Linked DNA regions of Homo sapiens: region 1 is linked to region 2. Evidence: promoter capture Hi-C in human tissues and cell types (Jung and others, 2019). All regions are on one chromosome and are shown on one strand. The core of a region is centred on a gene start or on the middle of the fragment in contact, and the rest is flanking DNA. Distances in the headings are between cores, read along the strand shown. Region 1 holds the start of SHC2 (SHC adaptor protein 2). Region 2 holds the start of MIER2 (MIER family member 2).

Region 1 (2,700 bases), core at 75-2,574, 120 kb before region 2:
AGCCCTCAGCCTAGGGCCGCCAAACCTGTCCCACCCTTTACCCATTAGGTGAACACACCCCAGGACCCAGCAGCCTGGATCCCCTGCATATGCCTGGACACGCACCCAGACACAGCGTACACCCTGCGCACAACACACACACCGCGCGCAGGTCCAGCCGCGGCTCCAGCCCGACCAATCGCGCCCACGATCTGCTCCTCCCGCGGACGCGCAGGGGCTGAGTCCGACACGCGCCGCGGCAGAGACGGCCGATCGCGACCGCGCGCCTCGCTCCCCTCCCCCACCTCCCCGGCCCCGCGGGCGGCGCCGGCTGTGATCTCATCCCCTGAATTATCGATCGGGCTCCGGGCAGCCTCGCCCCTCCCTCCCTCCCCACCTGCCAGCGCGTCCCGGCCCCTCCCTTTGTTCCCGGCAATCAGCCCTGCTTGGGGCGGGGCAGGTGCAGGGGAGCTCCAGCCAAGTCGGGCCAGGAGGCTGGGTCCCGGGGTGACAGTGACACCCCGTTTTCTGGTGCAGAAGGAACCGACCCTTGAGGCCAGGGAAGGTGCGGCCGGTCTCGGAGAGGTTGAGGCTGGGGATGGAGCGACCGGCCTGGGAGGCTGAGGCCCAGAGCTCAGATGAGCTGGTGCGGGACTGGGCTCCCCAGAAGTGAGGGAAGAAGGGCCGCGACCCTCCAGCCCGCTCCCCTGAGTTACAGCCGGAGAAACTGAGGCCGGGACAGGCCGCAGAGCAGGGGCCCGGCTCCGCTCCTAGCCCCGCCCCCCCCCCCCACCCCCGAGCCGGCACTCCTGGGTTTGAGCTTCGTCTGTGAGCCCTCGGCCGCGCCCCTTCCCCTCCCCGCGCCTCAGTTTCCCCACTAAGAAATAGGGGTGACCCTAAGGTACCTTCTAGCTGCAACAACGGAGAGGGAGGGGCTGACCTTAGGGTCTGGGGTTCTCTTTTCCCTGGCCGCGCCTCCCGGGGCCTCAGTTTCCCCACTAGGAAATAGGGGAAAGAAGGGATGTGGAATTTCTAAGCTTCTCCAGCTCGGTCCTTCTGCGAACTTGGGCGGCGGGCGGGGGTGGGGGGCGCAGCGGGGAGGGTCGCTGACGGGGTTCTGGGTTCAAAGCCCCGTCCCGCCTTGGCTGCGGGTTCCAGGCCAGCGCCCGGTGTCCTCGGAGGGCCTCAGTTTCCCCAGCCTCGCGGCCAGGCTCCGGGACGAGGAGGGCCGGGGTCCCAGGGGCGCAGCCCCCCGCGGCTGCGCGCTGGGCCGGGCGGATGACATCACCGGGCCGGGGGGCGGGAGGGAGCGGGCGGAGCGGGAGGGCTTCCTCCGCGCCAGGCGCAGCGCCCGGTCGGGCTCCGTCGGGCGGCCGCGGCCATGACGCAGGGTCCGGGCGGGCGCGCGCCCCCGGCGCCCCCCGCGCCCCCCGAGCCCGAGGCGCCCACCACCTTCTGCGCGTTGCTGCCCCGAATGCCGCAGTGGAAGTTCGCGGCCCCGGGCGGCTTCCTGGGCCGCGGCCCGGCGGCGGCGCGGGCGGCTGGGGCCTCGGGGGGCGCGGACCCCCAACCCGAGCCGGCGGGCCCGGGGGGCGTCCCGGCGCTGGCGGCCGCCGTCCTGGGCGCCTGCGAGCCCCGCTGCGCCGCGCCCTGTCCCCTGCCCGCGCTCAGCCGCTGTCGGGGCGCGGGGTCGCGGGGGTCGCGGGGCGGGCGGGGGGCGGCGGGGTCCGGGGACGCCGCCGCCGCCGCCGAGTGGATCCGGAAGGGCAGCTTCATCCACAAACCCGCGCACGGCTGGCTACACCCCGACGCCAGGGTCCTGGGGCCCGGGGTCTCCTACGTCGTGCGGGTGAGTCCCCCCCACCCCCCCCGGGAGCCCGTTCGCGGCGGCCTCCCCTCCCCCACCCTCTCCTCCGGGACCCCCGGACCCCGCGAGCCAGGTGTCCCCTCCCCATCCTTCCTGCTCTCCCGCCACCCCGGACCCCCATCCCCGGCCGGCGGCCGGCGGCTGCCCCCACCCGGAGGCGCTGGGGTCCGGGTTCCCACGGCGTCACGTGGGGAGGGGCGGGGAGAGGGCGGCGGGGGAGGGGCGCGCATGCGCAGGTGCACCGCCCCCCACTCGGACTGGGCGGGCGAGGCCGAGAGCGGCGAGCGGCCGGGGCGTCTCTGCCACCGGAGCCCCCCGGACAGCTGTTCACGAATGACAGACGGGGCCCGAGACGCTGGCCTGCGGTGGGGGTGCGGGAAGGGGTGTTTGGAAAGGGGCTGGCGCCCGGACAGACCCCAGGATTCCAGATGGGAGGCAGCAGGGACTTCCAGGGCGGCCAAGGAAGCGGCCTTTGTTTATTTACCTTGGGTCTTATGATAAATGAACCTTTTCAAACACACGGGGAAGTCGGGCGCCTGGACACAGCACGCCTCCACCTAGGAGGGTAACCTTCCCCTCTGCTGACGGGTCTGCCCCTCTCTGTGGTTTATAGTAAACCGTGTGAAGTCACCTGCAGGGGTGACAGCGCCGTGCATAGTCCCCCGTCTTCTGAGAGAGCAGCTGTCCTACAGCTGCAGTCATTACGGCGTCTGGGAAAATGATCAGCCACTCCCGCACGCCACTACCGGTGGGTGCTCCCAGCTCCTCCCGGCCTCTGCGGCCAGGAACATTAGCCTGTGTTCACATTGGGTTGTGTCTTTGCTTTTCTGGACACTGAGTTCAGTAGGGTCCTT
Region 2 (2,700 bases), core at 147-2,646:
ACCCAGTTGAGGACTGCATAAGATATGTGTTTAGTTCACTGAATGACTGAATGAATAATAACAAATGAATAATAAAGGAAGGAACCAACTCTTGCACAAATCAGTGAGGACTCTTCAACACGAGGGCCAGAACCCTCAATCTCAATGATGTAAACCAAAAAAGGAGTGAGGGTAGACCCCTCCAGAGTGGTTCTTCTATCTCTTGGTTGGTGAATTCTCAGAGGACTGAGTAATGATTTTGCATCAGGAATCAAGGCTGATGCATGTCAAGTTCTCACTATTCATTGGCTGATCACTGGGAAACAGGAATGAGACTCATTCTCTTCTTCCTGGTCCCCAATTCCCTTCCTCCTGGTCCCCAATTCCCTTCTTCCTGGTCTCCAGTTCTCTTCTTCCTGGTCTCAGTAGGAACCGCCCTCCACTCATTTGCGCAAGCCAGACATCTGGAGGCCATCCTTCACTCTCTCCAGCTTCCCTCCATCAGCGAGTCTTGTGGTGTCCACCTTCTCAAGTCTCTCTGCACTCTGGTCCAGGCCCCACAGCTCCCACCTGGCCCCTGCCTCTTCACGCCCCACCCCTGCTTCCTATCCTCTCTCTGCATCGTGCGCCCCGAAGATTCACGGCACTTATCCGTCTCAAATTTAAGGTGTGGCGAGTCCTTGCCTTCCCATCCTCCACTCTAAACGCCCTGAAGACAGGCGTTAGGGCTGTCTCCTTCAAACCCTCAGGATCAGAACGTGCACGTGTTCCAGAAATGTTCAATCTGCGAAACGACGGACTGCAGAACCAAATGGCCCTGGGGTCAAGCCCACCTCCCTGCCTCCCGCCTTGGGCTCTCCGGCGCGGGGCCACCGTTTCTAAAACCTCTCCGACTGGTGCGCGTTCGCAAGCTCCCCGATTGGTTCCTCCGCGCGCTAGTTTGCTCATCACGGGTGCGAAAGTGCAGAAAATTCCAGAACCACGCAGCCCGGACACCAATTCTGGCTCTATCACTGACACTCTGGGTGGCCCGTCGCCCTGGGCCTCAGTTTCCTAGTCTGCCACGCGGGGTATTAACAGCGAGCAGCCGAGGGAATGAAGAGGTCACACAGGACCACGTGGTCCCCACGCAGGTGTGATTATCAGGAATTCGTATTTTTATGGAATGCAGTCTCCTCCGCCAAGGCCAAGGCCAAGATCAGGGTCCAGCAGAGACGGCCGGAAAGACACCGCAAGCTCGCCAGAAGCCGCCGGCCACGCTCGGCTGCGCGCCCGCGCCCGCGCCCGCGCACCTACTACGCGCCCGGCCCGCTCTCCGCCCCCTCCAGGCTCCGCCCCCTGCCCCGCCCTCCAGGCTCCACAGCCAATGAGTGCGCGGCCCCTCATCCGGGGATCCCGGCGCGGCCACCGCCTCCCGCGCACACACGGCCATGGCGGAGGTGAGTGAGCGGGCCGGGGGAGCCGGCCCCCCGCCCCCGCGCGTCCGCGCCCCCCGCCGCCGTGGCTCGGCCTCGTCGTGGGCCCCAGGGACGGAGAGCCCCGCTCTGGAGCTCTGAGGCCGGCCGGGGCGCCTGGCCCGTCCGGGGCCGGAGGGGCGCGGGGCTCCATCGGCGGCCGCCCCCGGCCGGCCCCCACCCCCCAACTCCCCCGGCTGCCACATCGCGGGCTGCAGTGCGCATGCGCGGCGGCGCGGGGCGGGCGGGGGCCGGGGTGGGGGAGGGGAGGGACGCGGGGCGGGGCTGGTGTCGGGGGTCCGGTGGGCGCGCGGCTCCGTTCCAGGGTCCGGCTCCGGTTCCCGGCCCCGGCCCGGGCCCCGCGGCGCGCAGGCCTCCCCTCCCGCGCCTTTGCCAACTTTGCCGAGTGCTGGGGCCGCCAGGCGCCCCGCGCTCCCCATCGGGATCCCGGTGGACCCACCGCGCCTCCGCCGCCCGCGAGCCCCCCGGCGGGGCTGGGTCAGACCCCGGGCGGGATTTGAACTCCCGACGCGGACCCGCCTGGCGCGAACTGGGCGCAGGGTGGGTGGGTCTGCCGGGGCCTAGAGAGCGTCGGGGCTGATCTCAGAAGAGTTGGACCAGCCTCTCCCGGGCACGAAGTTACTTCTGGAGCCTCCTCCCTCGTCCAGGAAACAAGCCCGGGACCCTTTATCTGAAATGTTTGGGACCAGCTATATTTTGGAATCCAGAATTTTTCCAATTTGAGGATCTGTGGGATTTTGGACTGTGATGTTTGATCAAACCCACCTAGGACTGTCTAGGATAAGACAACAGATAGCTTCGTGTCAGGTCAAACCAGGAAGGAAGAAACTTTCGCTTTTGAAGCTTTTTTTGATTTTGGAGTGGTGGATGAGCCTGTGTGGACTTGCTTTCACCTTGGAGGGCCCTGGTGAAGATGGAAAGAGATAATGTAGGTGAAGGTGCGGCGGCTGCGAGGTGCTCAGTCAGTGGGACTCAGTGCATGACTTCTGTGCGCAGAAGTTACGACAGGCGGGCAGACTCAAGAGCTGATCCTATCTCTGGGATAGAGCCCAAAGGAAAAGGTGCCCACCCAGCCAGGCACAGCCGCCTCGTGGGAAGCCGGGATTGGAACTGCGGCCTGGCCGTGGTGCCACGTTGCGTGTTTATGTCTTGGGCGTTGTGGGAGGCAGGACTGGCCATTCTCTCCCCCTGGTGACGACCTCAGGGGCAGTAACAGGCCCTGTGTTTATGCCAAAGACGGTGTAGG

The links. Contacts are between HindIII fragments. The study calls those that stand out against the background at their distance.
Region 1: a contact is called between the fragment with the promoter of SHC2 here and the fragment with the promoter of MIER2 in region 2, in 4 of the 25 tissues and cell types used here (dorsolateral prefrontal cortex, lymphoblastoid cells, mesendoderm cells and 1 more).

What each region holds. Positions count from the first base shown.
Region 1 is chr19:459,657-462,356 of GRCh38, reverse strand. It overlaps SHC2 (SHC adaptor protein 2), which reads left to right and starts at 1,324. Exons shown (of 13, transcript NM_012435.3): 1 at 1,324-1,828. The coding sequence starts at 1,361. The HindIII fragment of the contact is 8,702 bases long and covers 247-2,700 here.
Region 2 is chr19:343,492-346,191 of GRCh38, reverse strand. MIER2 (MIER family member 2) reads left to right here and starts at 1,396. Exons shown (of 14, transcript NM_017550.3): 1 at 1,396-1,418. The coding sequence starts at 1,410. RefSeq lists silencers at 1,052-1,501, 1,572-1,621, 1,922-2,031 and an enhancer at 2,340-2,700. The HindIII fragment of the contact is 27,379 bases long and covers 1-2,700 here.